Regions from separate parts of the Homo sapiens genome. Here region 1 is linked to region 2. Evidence: promoter capture Hi-C in 16 types of primary human blood cells and fetal thymus (Javierre and others, 2016). All regions are on one chromosome and are shown on one strand. Each heading gives the region's core, a stretch centred on a gene start or on the middle of the fragment in contact. The rest is flanking DNA. Distances are from core to core; before and after follow the strand shown. Region 1 has its middle 140 kb from the start of SLC24A2. Region 2 holds the start of HACD4 (3-hydroxyacyl-CoA dehydratase 4).

Region 1 (7,012 bases), core at 4,444-6,943, 1.1 Mb before region 2:
TAAAAGTGTAAGCTCTGGAGGCAGGCAGACCTGGGAGCAAGTCCCAGCTCATACTCTTCATAGCTGAGTGACCTTGAGAAAGTCACTCAATCCCTCTGAGGTTCTCTTTGTTCTTTTGCTCCCTGCTCACTCTTCATCTTACCCTGTCTAGCCCAACGTTTTTGGTAGTTCATGTTCCAGTCAGAAGAAAAGACCAGTGAGAACTGGGATTTATAATAATTACAATCATCAAAATTAACTGAGTACAGTGCTCAGCAATTTATATCAATTTCATGTAATCCTGAGAACCCTTTTATAAGGTAGGCATTGCACTGATTCACATTTTACCAGTGAGGAAATAGAAGTTTAGGAAGGTTGCCAAAAACTTAGAATGACCTTTCTAAAATATGTCTGGTTCTATTAGTCTTTGGTTTAAAATCTTACCATGGATTTATCTTCAGGATAAAATAAAATTCTTTAACACAGAAAAAAGGACCCTTCCATGCTGTGAGCCTTCAGGATTCAGTGGTTAACCAGTATCATCTTTCTAACTTCCTGACCTGCAAGTCTCCCTCTGACCACACTGAGCTTTCACCCTTCCCTAGCTGACTGAGGTGTTCTTGCACCTCCAAGAATCTGCACACAATCTTTTCTTCTTCCTTCATATCCTTCTGGATCTGGCTAACTCTGACTATCCTTCAAGACATGGTTGGGTATCGCTTTGTCTGGAGAATAACCTGTATGCCCCCAAAGATGGGGATAAACACCCTTTCTAGATGATCTGGTAGTTTCTGAGTCTGCTTCTAACAAGGTTAACTCCAAATTCCTCAGCCCAAGACTGAAGGGAACTCCTTTCACTCCTTTTACCCTGGACTCTCACCCGTGCAGCTCTCTGGCAGCCGGAAGTCCAAGATGCCCATGGACTCTTAGCAAGCCATTCACAGTCTTCATTTAGGGAATTTTAGTAGAGTCTGCTGAATTTGTCTTAAATAGGCTGACTACAATGATTTTTTAAAATGTATACAATCATGCACTGCATAACAACTTTTCAGTCAACAACAGATCAAATATATGATGGTGATCCCAGGACCTGAAAATATCCTATTGCCTGGTGACATTATAGCCATCAGCATGTGGTAGAGCAACACATTACTCACTTGTTTGCCAGTTGTAAAAAAGAATAGCACATACAATTACATACAGTACGTAATACTTGATAATAATAAATGACGATGTTACTGGTTTGTATATTTACTGTACTATATTTTTCACAGTTATTTTAGGGTGTACTCCTATTTATTAAAAAAAATGTTAACTATAAAAAGCCTCAGGCAGGTTCTTCAGGAGGTGTTCCAGAAGAAGGCATTGTTATCATAGGAGGTGACAGCTCCATGCATGTTATTTTCCCTGAAGAACTTCCAGTGGGACAGATGTAGAGGTGGAAGACAATTATACTGATGCTCCTGACCCTGTGTAGGCTAATGTACATGTTTGTGTCTTGGTTTCTAACAAAAAAGTCTAAAAAGCAAAAAATATTAAAAATTTTAAACAGAAAAAAGGTTATAGAATAACGATATAAAAATATTTTCGTATAGCTATACAATATATTTGTGTTTTAAGCTAAGTGTTATTACAAAAAGTCAAAATTTTAAAAATTACAGCGTTTATAAAGTAAAAAACTTTATAGTAACAAAGGTTAATTTATTATTGAAGAAAAATTGTTTATACATTTAGTGTAGCCTAATTTTACAGTGTTTATAAAGTCTACAGTAGTATACAGTAATGTCCTAGGTCTTCACATTTACTTATCACTCACTCACCAACTCACCCAGAGCAACTTCCAGTCCTGCAAGCTCCATTCATGCCCCATACAGGTATACCATTTAAAAAATCTTCTATAGCATATATTTACTCTAGTGTTTCCACATTGAGATGTATTTAAATACACAAATATTTATCATTGTGTTACAATTGCCTGTAGTATTGAGAATAGTAACATGGTGTACAGATCTGTAGCCTAGCAGCAATAGGCTATACCATACAGCCTAGGTGTGTAGGTGGCTACACCATCTAAGTTCGTGTAACACAATGACAAAACCACCTAACCATGCATTTCTCAGATTGTGTCCCCATCATGAAGTGACCCATGATTGTACATCATATACTGCCCCTAGAGTCTTCTCAGTGGCCATCTGGCTCAGAAGTTTTCAATCTTTCTTAGGACAAGGACTGCTTTCGAATTTGTGGGAAGCAATGGATGCTGTTGGGGAGGGGGCTGCACATACAGACATATTTACTAAAGGTATTATAATTTCAGGAAGGTTCACAGATCCCCTGCAGACCACTCAGGAATTCTGTTAAGAATCCCTGATGAAGTCCAACTTTCTCATTTGTAGCTAGGAAACAGGGTGCCAGAGACTTGCTGTAATTGTCCACATTCAGATAGCTAGAGAGTGATCAAGCTGGGATTTATATCCAAGTGTTCTGGTTCTTTTAGCCTGTGTTTATTTTAAAGATTAATAATGGGGGAAACTATTAATTTTACTGCATCCCACAATTGGTCAAGCATAGATTACTAAACCTTTGTGCTTCCATATAGGATTGGCATTAGCAGAATTCATTGACACTAGCAATGACCAATAGTGATTGAAACCTCCAAGAAAAGACATTAAATAATCATGATAACCATAGAATGTTACTTAAAAGGGTAGGAAGCAAAACCTCATTAAACAAAAATTAAAAACACTTAAGAATGACAATATCAATAGCTAAAATCAACACCAACAGATACAAGACCATCCTTCCAGCCAAGTAAGACAATCAAAAGGTGTGGAAGGTCAGGTTGCAGTCCTGATCAGTCAGGCATTCAAACTGGACTGATAATTATCAAAGTGGAAGTTCACAGAAAGAGTTATTATAATTGAGGAAGTAAAAAATCATGTAACTTCCACATTCAATACTGTAATTTAAAAATAGATTTTTTTCACAATAACCATATACAAAATAATGTATTTAACACATAAAACCAACAAGAGAAAACCCACAATTCTTTCTGATCACACAAAAATCTATTTAGAATGTTAAAATTATTATTTTTTCTCTATGCCTTTGTTGTTCTACTTAAAGTATACAAACATCATACTGACATAGATTACTTATTCACTTACCAAAAAGGAGATGTAGACAATAGAACATCTAAATTGACTGAAAAATCTACCAAGGCTTTTATATTTAAATCACAGGCAAAATGGTACATGTTATCTTCAAATTAGGGTGACTAAACATTTTGGTTTGCCCAGGACTGTCCCATATTTGGCATGGGAAGTCCCATGTCCACAACACCCCTCAGTTCCAGGCCAAACAAGACAGCTGGTCACCCTACCTCAAACAACAGCACAAACAACCAGAATAATTATGTTCTTTAAACTCTCACCTTATATACAATTTATAAATAATAACAATGAATTCATTGAATAAAGAAATAAAATATTGAGTTGGCTATTTTACATTATAGACTGAACTGGGTTTTTAATTTAATTTTATTTATTATTATTATTATTTTTAGTTTTGAGTCTTACTTTTTCCTCCCATGTAGAAAGAGAATTAGTTTTGTTAATTTAAAAAATCATCCATTATGCATCAGCCATCATGGTCAACAGCTGAAATTTCTCATGTATTCGCATACCACAATACGGTCCCATTAAACATGAGCGTATTGAAACAAACAAATACTAGAATAAATTCATGCAGTAAAACTCTAAAAAATAGTACCGAACCATAGGAGAAAAAGGAAACCATTTAAATAGTCAAAGTTGTAAGAAAAATATTTTTGTTCTGAAATGGTCTTGGTTTCTTTTTCTTAGGTGAGAGTGTGTTGGGTAGAGATGAAAGCTTGGGAAGGATCGTTAAAATTCCGGTAGATATTTTTTAACTGCCACTAATTCACTGCCGAATAATGTTATACAAATTATGTAGCCCAATGTTGTCTTACGTGGAGCTTCTTCAATATCATAGTGAAATTTAGCTGGTAGCAATATTATGAGCCTGAATTAATAATTTTAGGGGCCTGCTAATGAAGCAGCTGTAGCCAAAAAAACCAAGGTGGGGAAATATCTATTAAAATGACATCTTGCATTCCTTTATGGTTTATGGAAGTTTTCAATGTATGCTATGATTATTTCCATTTTATTGTATGGGTGACTCACGGTTATGAGAATTTACCTAAGTTCACTTCGTGGGTATGTGGAAGAAGAGGGCTAGAACTCAGAACTTCTGACTTCTAGTCTGGTGCTGTCTTTAGTTTTCAACTCTTGCCACTGTGTTTCAGACTTTGCAGGCCACTGTGAGTCTGACACCTACAATACCCTCTCTTTGAAAAAATATACATGTGCATAGGTCCTTTCCTATCAGTTATAAGGCCTGGGACAAGCGTACAAAGGGAGAGCCATACACCTTATGCCACAGGTTTTTCCTCATCTCACCCCGTCCTACTCTGTCCATAATACTCTCAGATTCCCCCGTCATCACTGGTTTCACCCTTTTAAGTCCTTCAAAGGAACCTAAGGCTGGAAGGCCAAGTTCAAATATAGAATTGTTGGACTCCTTGGAATTTTTCTCTGGAAAGTGGTGGCCTTCTCATCCTTGGCCTTCCCAGCCCTGGGGCAGGAGGTGGGGGCTGCGGGGAGGATGGACTTGGGGAAGAGGCTTGAGCTCTTTAGGTAGAAAATTCCCAGGTTCTAGGAGCAGAACCATGGGCCAAAAAAGGAGGAAGCAGGCTTATAGTGGGCACTTTGCTTGGACCTCTGGAACATCATGTCCTGTAGAGAGGGGCACAGCCAGAGTAAGGCATGCTAAGGTACCCCTCTTGCCTGATCTAAAAGCAACGGTACTTGCACACATACTCAAACAATTCTATATACAACTTCTGGGATTCACAGGTGTCCTGTAGCTCTTCCTTAGATCACAAGTTAAGAACTTCTGATATCATCACTTAAGAATAGCAGTAAATCCCACTTGTATTGCTCTTAATAAAGTATAAAATGCTTTCACACTCAAAAGCTCATAATCTCATTTATTTGATTCTTAGTTCCATTCATTCATTCATTCATTCATTCATCCATTCAATTCATTCATCTACTTGTCAAAGAACGCGCCGGGGGTGGGCTATCAACTGTACAGGTAAAAACAGATCCTTTCAAAAGATTCCACAGTTACCACAGGACCCAGCAATACTACTCCTACATACATATTAAAAAGAAATAAAACACATGTCTGTTTAAACACTTGTACATGCATCTTCGTAGCAGCATTACTTATAATAGCCAAAAAGTAGAAACAACCCAAATGTTCATCAACTGATGAATGGATAAACGAAATGTGGTATATCCATACAATGCAATATTGTTTCACAATACAAAGGAATAAAGTCCTGGTGCATGCGACCATGGGAATAACCTGAAAACTTTATCCTAAGTGAAAGATGCCAGGCACAAAAGCCACATGTAGTATGATTCCATTTATGTGAGATTCCCCAAACAGGCAAATCCATAGAGGCAGAAAGTAGATTAATGGTATGCTAGGGGTATGCAGGAAAGGAATAATGGGGGCGTGACTGCTAATGAGCAGAGGGCTTTCTTTTTTGGGGTGATGAAAATGTTCTGGACTTAGTTGTGATGGCTACTCAACCTCCTAAGTATACTGAAAACCACTGAATAGTACACTTTAAAAGGGCGAATTTTATAGTATCTGAATTATACCTTAATTTTAAAACAGATTTTCAGAGCAAACTAAAACAGATCTTGTTCTTGCTTTTATGACGCCTACAGCCTGGCTCTCTGAGAGGTCTCTGCACTTATTAGGGCAGTTTCCAAGACGGGGTGGCCGGGCCTCAAAGCAGGCCCATCATTTTATCCGTCCCCTTCCCAACAGGCCAGTGAAGGATTTGGCAGGAAGCAAACAGGTGGCTTCATGTCTCAGCGTCGGTTTTCCAAAGCGGCCTCCATGGGCCGAGACACATGCCCTGCACCGGTGTGAGAGTGTATCCCGGACCCCCGCGCACCCCCGGGCTCCCGCGCACCACAAGGACCCCAAGCAAATCCTGGCCCCCATTGCAGCTCCCAGGTCCCCGCGCACCCCCGTTCCGGCCCCCGTGCACCGTGCGCGCCCATGGCGGGGCTCCGGAGCCTCCTGCGCTGCCTGCCAGGCAGCGTGCACAGCAGAGGCCAAACAGGCAGCCAGCACCTCCTGCCTCATTTAAGTGGTAATTTCCTTTGGGGGTTTCATTCAAGTGCAGCCCTGGGAAAATCGCGGCGAAGAGCTTTCCGAGAGGAAACGTTCCCTACGCTTCCCGGAGAGTTGTAAAGCTCGGGAACTTTCTCTTTTGCTGGTCGCCAGCCTCTACAGAGTAACGAACCGAGCGGGGCGTGGCGGGGAGGGCAAGCGTGGCGAGTCCGTTTCTGTCTTCTCCTCCAGGGAAAGGAGGAGCGGTGAGTGGTGGAAGAGAAAGATTTTAAATTGGAGTTTTGGAGGCGGGAGAGCTGGCAGGGGTCTCATGGCCTTGAGATATGGGCGTCTTGGCGCCTCTGGAACTTTGTTTTCCTCGTGGGAAAGGAGGAATCGATTTCTTTCTGTGGGGGCCCACTACCACTTATTTTTATTTTATTTATTTATTTTATTTTATTTTATTTTATATTTTGGTGCTGTTGTTGGTTCTCCCTTTAGTCACGGGGCAGGATGGGTGGAAAATATTTCTCAATATTGTGCCTGCGTTTGCATCACTTGGGTTGCTTGTGAAAAATAGATCCCCCAGCTTCCAGCCTGACCTACTATATTGGAAATCGGGATTGGGGGGTGGGGTGTGTGTGTTAAAGACAGGGGGGTTCTAGCATAAAAATGTATATTTTTTAACAACTTTGCTGGATGATTGTTAAGCATACTAAAGTTTAAGAGCCTCTGGTAGGCACAAAGTCCTTGCTGCTGAAGAGGATCTGAAAGAACTGAAACCAAAAAACAAAACAAATAAACAAACAAAACA
Region 2 (6,363 bases), core at 703-3,202:
ATGTAATACAACTGATCTACAGAACATCACAGCTTAGCCTAGTCTACCTTAAACTTGCTCAGAACACCTACATTAGCTTACAGTTGGGTGGAATCATCTGGCAACACAGTGCACTGTGGAGTACCGGTTGTTTACCTTCCTGATCATGCGGCCGACTGGGAGCTGCGGCCTGATGCCGCGGCCCAGCATCATGAAAGGATATCATACCTGCACATCGCTAGCCTGGGGAAAGATTAAAATCCAAAATTTGAAGTACGGTTTCTAATGAATACATATCATTTTCACACCATCACAAAGTTTAAAAAATTGTGAGTCATGGACCATCTGTATAGTGAGTTTGCTTAAAACCAAATATAGTGCTTTTTCAAAATCTGCTTTCATCTTTGATAAAGTTCTAACCTTGCTGCTCACCAAGGAATAAAAGAAACCACTGCGAAGGTGGCTTTGAATATTCTTTAAAAAAACAAAACAGGCTGGGCGCGGTGGCTCAGGCATGTAATCCCAGCACTTTGGGAGGCCAAGGCGGGTTGGATCACTTGAGGCCAGAAGTTCAAGACCAGCCTGGCCAACATGGCAACTTACAAAAAAAAAAAAAAAAAAGCCGGATGTGGTAACGTATGCCTGTAATCCCAGCTACCTAGCTGCTCAGGAGGCTGAGGCAGGACAATCACTTGAACCTGGGAGGTAGAGGCTGCAGTGAACCGAGACAGCGCCACTGCACTCCAGCCTGGGCGACAGATCAAAACTCTGTTCTCAAAAATAAATAAAAAATAAAAAACAAAACAACAACAACAACAAAAAATCCATGTGTGCAGAGTGGTTGACATGTCACTATGTGTTCCAGTAGCTCAGCTTGCTAAGTGCAGAACTTGAGACACAGTGTTTTAGTTCTGAAGGGGGGTAGGGATGGGAGTAATCCAAATGTTGGGTAATTCAGTAATTGGACACACCTGACTTTTGAACACATTATGTGATTGAGGTTAGTATTAACATCTTGCCACTGCCTATTAACATTTTGCAAGGGTAGATAGTTTCCTTCATCAGATACATATCGAAAGCAGTTTAGTTGCTCATACCAGAAGAGGGAAGTCAAGCTGGGTTTAACAATGTGTTGTGAGTTGCTGGGGAGATGACTAAGAGAAGATTGACAGATAGATGGTTTGAGGGAGTTAGGAAAAGCACTGTTTGAAATGTTCCCTGGGAGTTCAGAAGAGTGACGGGAGTGGCCCTGCCAGTGTGGTCAAGATTTACTCCTCCTTGAAGATGTGAAACCTCCTAGAAACAAGGAAAATAAGCTGGGAGGCAGAATGATTTTTATTTGGGGACATCCTCCCCTATAAAGGCAGGAACTGCTAAAGGGTTTGGGAAGAGGAAATCCTCCTTCAGCTTGTATCAGAATTACCTGGCTTGTGGGTTAAACATATACACCCCCAGGCCCTACCGCTATATGACTGAATCTGTTCCCCGCCGGAACTAGGCCCTGAAATCTATACGTGTGATAGGTGTTTCCACGGCTGTTACATCTAAAAATCACCCCGCAACTCTGCGTCTGAGAAAGTCAAGAGAAGGCTCCTGGGGGGAGGGAAGTACTGGCAGAGGGCTCACAAGGGCAGGGGTAGCCATGCAGCCTGTCCTTCCCATTCAACTGTAAAATGGAGAAAATAACAGAGCCTGCTTCCTAGGGTGGTCAAGAGGGGTAAGTTAGCAAATACCTGCATGAGCTCCAAGGGGTGCCTGGGCACGGTAGCGCTGCGCCTTGCTGGCGGGCGGGGGGTGCCGCCCGCCCGCCCGCCGCAGAGGGGAGCTCCCGCCTCCAGGCCCTCCACCCGCGCCCCCTCCCCTCGGGATTCGGCCGAGCGCCCTACCTGGGCTGCAGCCAGGCGGGCAGCGCCAAGGGCCCCATGGGCCGCCGCCGCCAGGGCTTCCAGCGCGGTCCAGGAAGGAGTACCGGGGAGGAGGCAGGGGCGGCCCCGCGGCTGGGCGCGGAAGGGCGGGGCCTCTCCACACTCAGCAGTTTACAAAAAGAAAAAGCCCGAGGTCGTGCGTTGGGGAAGAGATGAAAACGAAGTTCTCGAAGTTTCTGCAGCACTGCTAGAGCGCGTCAGGGCGCAAGGCTGGGAGGCGGCTCGCGTTCCCGGTGGGGTTACCAAACTCTGGTTACAGCTTCCTAATCTTTGTGTTGAGACCCCCTTGCAAGCCTTCTGGAAATTAATGCATCTGGGCGATTTCCGGGGCCTCCGAACTCGCTGAAGCCCATCCCCAAACCTCCCGAGATGAGTGGATTCCAGGGTGGGCTCTGCTCAATGCCCACCGGTGAGCCAGGTTCAGACACGAAGCTTGTGCCGGGCGCAGTGGCTAATGCCTATAATCCCAGCACTTTGGGAGGCCGAGGCGGGAGGATCTTTTGAGCCCAGGAGTTCGAGACCAGCCTGGGCAACATAGCGAAAACGCGTCTCTACTAAATGTACAAAAATTAGTCGGGCATGGTGACGCGGGCCTGTGGTCCCAGCTACTCCAGAGGCTGAGGTGGGAGGATCGCTTGAGCCTGGGAGGTCGAGGCTGCAATGAGCCAAGATCACGCGGCTACACTCCAGCCTGGGTAACAGAGCGAGATCCTGTCTCAAAAAATAAATAAAAATAAAACGAAGTTTGTAGCACACCTCCCCAACACTTTTTCAGCTAGGGGCCTGATTCCTCTTCTATCAGGCCTCCCTGCTCTCTAATCTCCCTTGGGTTCTCACTGGTGCCTGCAAATCTTTATTCACGTTGTGTTAATTTCTCTAGCCTATGCCCAGCACTGCTACAACCCCTTCGTGATCTCTCAGGCTTATGACATCACTGTCTCCGTACACAGATGACCCACCCTCCTGCTTTGCTAATAAGATCCAGCCCATCTTCAAGCTCCTCTGCCCAGAAAGGGAAACGTTAAAACAAAAACAGAAACATCTAAGAAGGCACTTGCAAGTAAGTGGGACAATGGCACCTGGTTTTGGAGTTGGAAGTTAGCGCCCCCATTTTTACCAAAAGGGAAGTTGAGGCATTAAAAAAATGTTAAGTCACTTGGCACAGGTCACACAATTGATAAAATGGCAGTATCAGAACTTCAAGGTTGGTGGGATTTCTTGTTTGTTTCCCATTAGGCCGTGGCTTCCTTTTTTCATAGTCCATTCCATTCACTATGCCTACCTCTCACCTCTACATTTCTCTGCACCTTCTCTCATACCCTGCCCTCAGTCGGAGGTTAACCCCAACTTTGTGTTTACCAGTCCCTTCTCAGACTCACTGCATCAGTAGTTAACCATCGCCTCTTCTTGCATCGTCATCCCCTCCTTTCCATTGGCTTTCACTGCACTTTAGGGACATAGACAACTCTCTCTTAGCATATAATTAAACATTGTATTCTTTCTGTTTCTCTCTCAATGGAATCTTCTAATAACTCCCTGCCTGCCTTCTCTGATCAGGTGCTTCTTTCATTTCCTACCATCTTCCTGTTCCATAATACCTTACAGTTTGACTCTCCTGACACTGCTCCGTCCGCGAGCATGTTAATTTTTCGCCGAATCCCTATCCTGTATCACCTTGCAGGATGATGCCCCACGGTCCTTGCTTTTACAGAACATTTGATCTAAAGGGTAAACTGGTGGCTAACCCATTATCAATGCTATCTCTGATCAGGTTAAGCAGCAAGAGAGAAAGTAAAGTCCCAGATGGCCTGCAGTGGGGCAGGAGGGAGAAGGTGGAAAGCCTGCCCAGAAGAATTGATCCTTTGTCACCAAACACAGCCCCTGCATCCACATCCTCATTGACAGGTCTGCTGCATTTTACCAGTTCTGTCTGTCTGCCATTTACCCCTGAAGTTCTACATATTCTACGTCTCTTGCCTTATGTCCCTTCTGTCTCTCTGGATGGGTCTTCTTCTCCTGCTGTATTTCCTCAAAAGTCTGCCCTTAGTCACCATCCATTTGTCACCATGTTATCCCTCAGCATAGACAACCACACATGGCTTTATCTCCATGTGGACAACTTTTGACTATTATTTTCAGCCCTTTCTTCTTTTATGAATACTATCTCTGGCCTTTGAGCAGCTTTTGGATATTTCCTCATGAAAGTCCTATTGTTTGGACTATCTTTGGAACGTCTTCCAATTCAACCTATTTAAAATAAGCATACTATCTCTCTTCCTAAATCATTATTTCCCACAGAAAGACCACCATTTTTCTAGCCACTTGATTTTAAATTGGGGAGTCATCATTAAGCACCCCATCCAATCAAATTCGATTGATCCCATCCTTTCCAGATCTCCTACTAATCAGTAGTGTTCTTTGTCCATTCCTTATTTTCCAGTACCTGGGTGAGGAGTAATTGGCCTCCCTCACATCCATTCTTTACATCATAACTCAGTTGACTTTCTGGAGCGTCTTGGGTTATATCTTTCTGCTGCACAAAAAGAGGCCCTTTTTAGTTGCCAAAAAAGAACAAGCCAATCAGTCGAAAAATAAAAAATCCTTTCAAATCAAGCAGTTAGCTGATTCTACGTTATTTCCCAAGGAAAGAGTACAAAAAGAGCTTAGGAGAGAACATTTTGTATGAAAAGTGAAATTCTCCCTTTCCCCTGGTCAGTTCCCAGTCCTGCCCACGTCCTGCCAGCATTATCAAGATGGCCTCCCCCAGCCTCCCTGCCTCCAATCTCTTTCCTCCTTCTACCCAGACTGCCATAGATTATTTAAGGATGGCAAAAATATTTCTTAAAACACAGTTCTGATGTAGCCATTCTCCTGGTCTAAATCTTTTGCTGACTCCCCGTTGCCTGCTACAGTATATCTCTTCTTGCCCCTAAACCTGTCACATGCTGACATCTCCTACCATCCTATCCCCTTACCAAAAATCACAGCAACCTGCTGTTCCATGACCACACCAGGCATTCTCTGGCCAATGTGCCTCTGTGAAAAATTTCCCGTCTACTTTTTCTATTCTACCTCCTCCCCTTATCACAGCCCAGTACTTACCTGTCAAAATTCTATTCATTCTTTAAAAGCCTTCCCAAAGATCCCCTCTGGGAGTCACATAGGCTAACGTATGTCTATGTTGGTATTTATCTTAGGGTATTGTTGTTGTCAAGGTACTTGACTATTTAACTAGATTATAGATTCTCAGAGGCTTCTCTCTCACTAACAGTGAGAATTTGACAACTTTTAACCTTTAAAAATGAAGTTTCTTTTGCCAAAAGCACACAGTTATTAGAAAGATCAAATAATAAAATTTATAGATGAAAATGGATAAAAGCCCCTAGTACAGTGCTTGGCATAGTAAGTATCCATAAATATGTTGGATGAATGAATTAAATCTAGTATGAGTTTTCTATTCCCAAAATTTTAACCCAAAACAAAACATTCAGTGATAGTTACATTACTGAAGTATGTATATTCAACTTTCAGTTATCCACTGGTACAGAAGAAGTCAGAGTCCAAGATAACAACTGAATTAATATATTCTAATCTTTAGAAGAAATTTTAAAATTATTCGAACATGTCAATTTTGTTTTCCTTGGGCAAATGCTTCAATTTGTTTTCATCCCAAAGAGCACCATCTGGGAGGCTAAAACCTTGAAATATATTTCATGGCAGTAACAGACTGGCTACAAAATAAATTCTTTTTTATTTTCAGCACCTTGAGTTTTCAGAGGTCACTCCTCTCCCTCAAAGAAAACACAGAATAAAACTCTTTGTGACCTTGGGTTAGGTAGAGATTTCTTAGGTATTTCATCTAAGAAGCCCTCTTAGATAGCTAAGCAAGCATTTCTTAGCTACTTCTGGCCTTCAAAAGACACTTTCAAGTGAGTGAAAAGAAGCTATATAGTAGAAGAAAATATTTAAAAATCGCATAACTAATAAAGAACTTGTTTGCAAATATATACAGAACTCTCAAAACTCAATAATTGGAAGACAATAAACCCCCCCAAAATAGGCAAAAGATTTGAAAACACACATAACCAAGTAAGAGACAAAGAAAGAACATAAAAGTATGGTCAAAATAATTAGTAATTATGGAAATGAAAATAAAACCACAATGAGATATCGCTACACACTGATAAAGATGGCTAAGATGAAAAAGAGTTAACCACCACAAGTGTTAGTGAAGATGTGCCACAATGGGGATTCTCATAAGCAGCTTTATTTTTAATAGCCAAAAACTGAAAACAACCCAAATTTCCATAAACAGATGAATGGATAAATAAATTATGGCATAACTGTACAATGAAATCCAACTCAGCAGTAAAAAGAAGTGAACTACTGATACAAGCAATAACATGGATGAAATTCAAAATAATCAAACTGAATGTCAGAAGCCAGAAAAAAAAAGAAT

What was found. The method cuts DNA at HindIII sites, captures the fragments that hold promoters and counts their contacts. A CHiCAGO score of 5 or more calls a contact.
Region 1: a fragment that was not itself captured here is called in contact with the fragment with the promoter of HACD4 in region 2 in 7 of 17 cell types (monocytes, M1 macrophages, activated CD4 T cells and 4 more); the score reaches 7.5 in monocytes.

Annotation. Positions count from the first base shown.
Region 1 is chr9:19,928,399-19,935,410 of GRCh38, forward strand. It overlaps a transcript of SLC24A2 not described here. Among named protein-coding and RNA genes, the nearest start is that of SLC24A2, 140 kb to the left of the region's middle. The HindIII fragment of the contact is 3,650 bases long and covers 3,869-7,012 here.
Region 2 is chr9:21,029,688-21,036,050 of GRCh38, forward strand. HACD4 (3-hydroxyacyl-CoA dehydratase 4) reads right to left here and starts at 1,953. Exons shown (of 7, transcript NM_001010915.5): 1 at 1,866-1,953. The coding sequence starts at 1,903. LOC105375989 (a long non-coding RNA gene) reads left to right here and starts at 1,955. Exons shown (of 3, transcript XR_007061435.1): 1 at 1,955-2,313; 2 at 2,785-2,964; 3 at 3,676-4,232. RefSeq lists a silencer at 1,729-2,088 and an enhancer at 1,732-2,292. The HindIII fragment of the contact is 3,612 bases long and covers 1-2,334 here.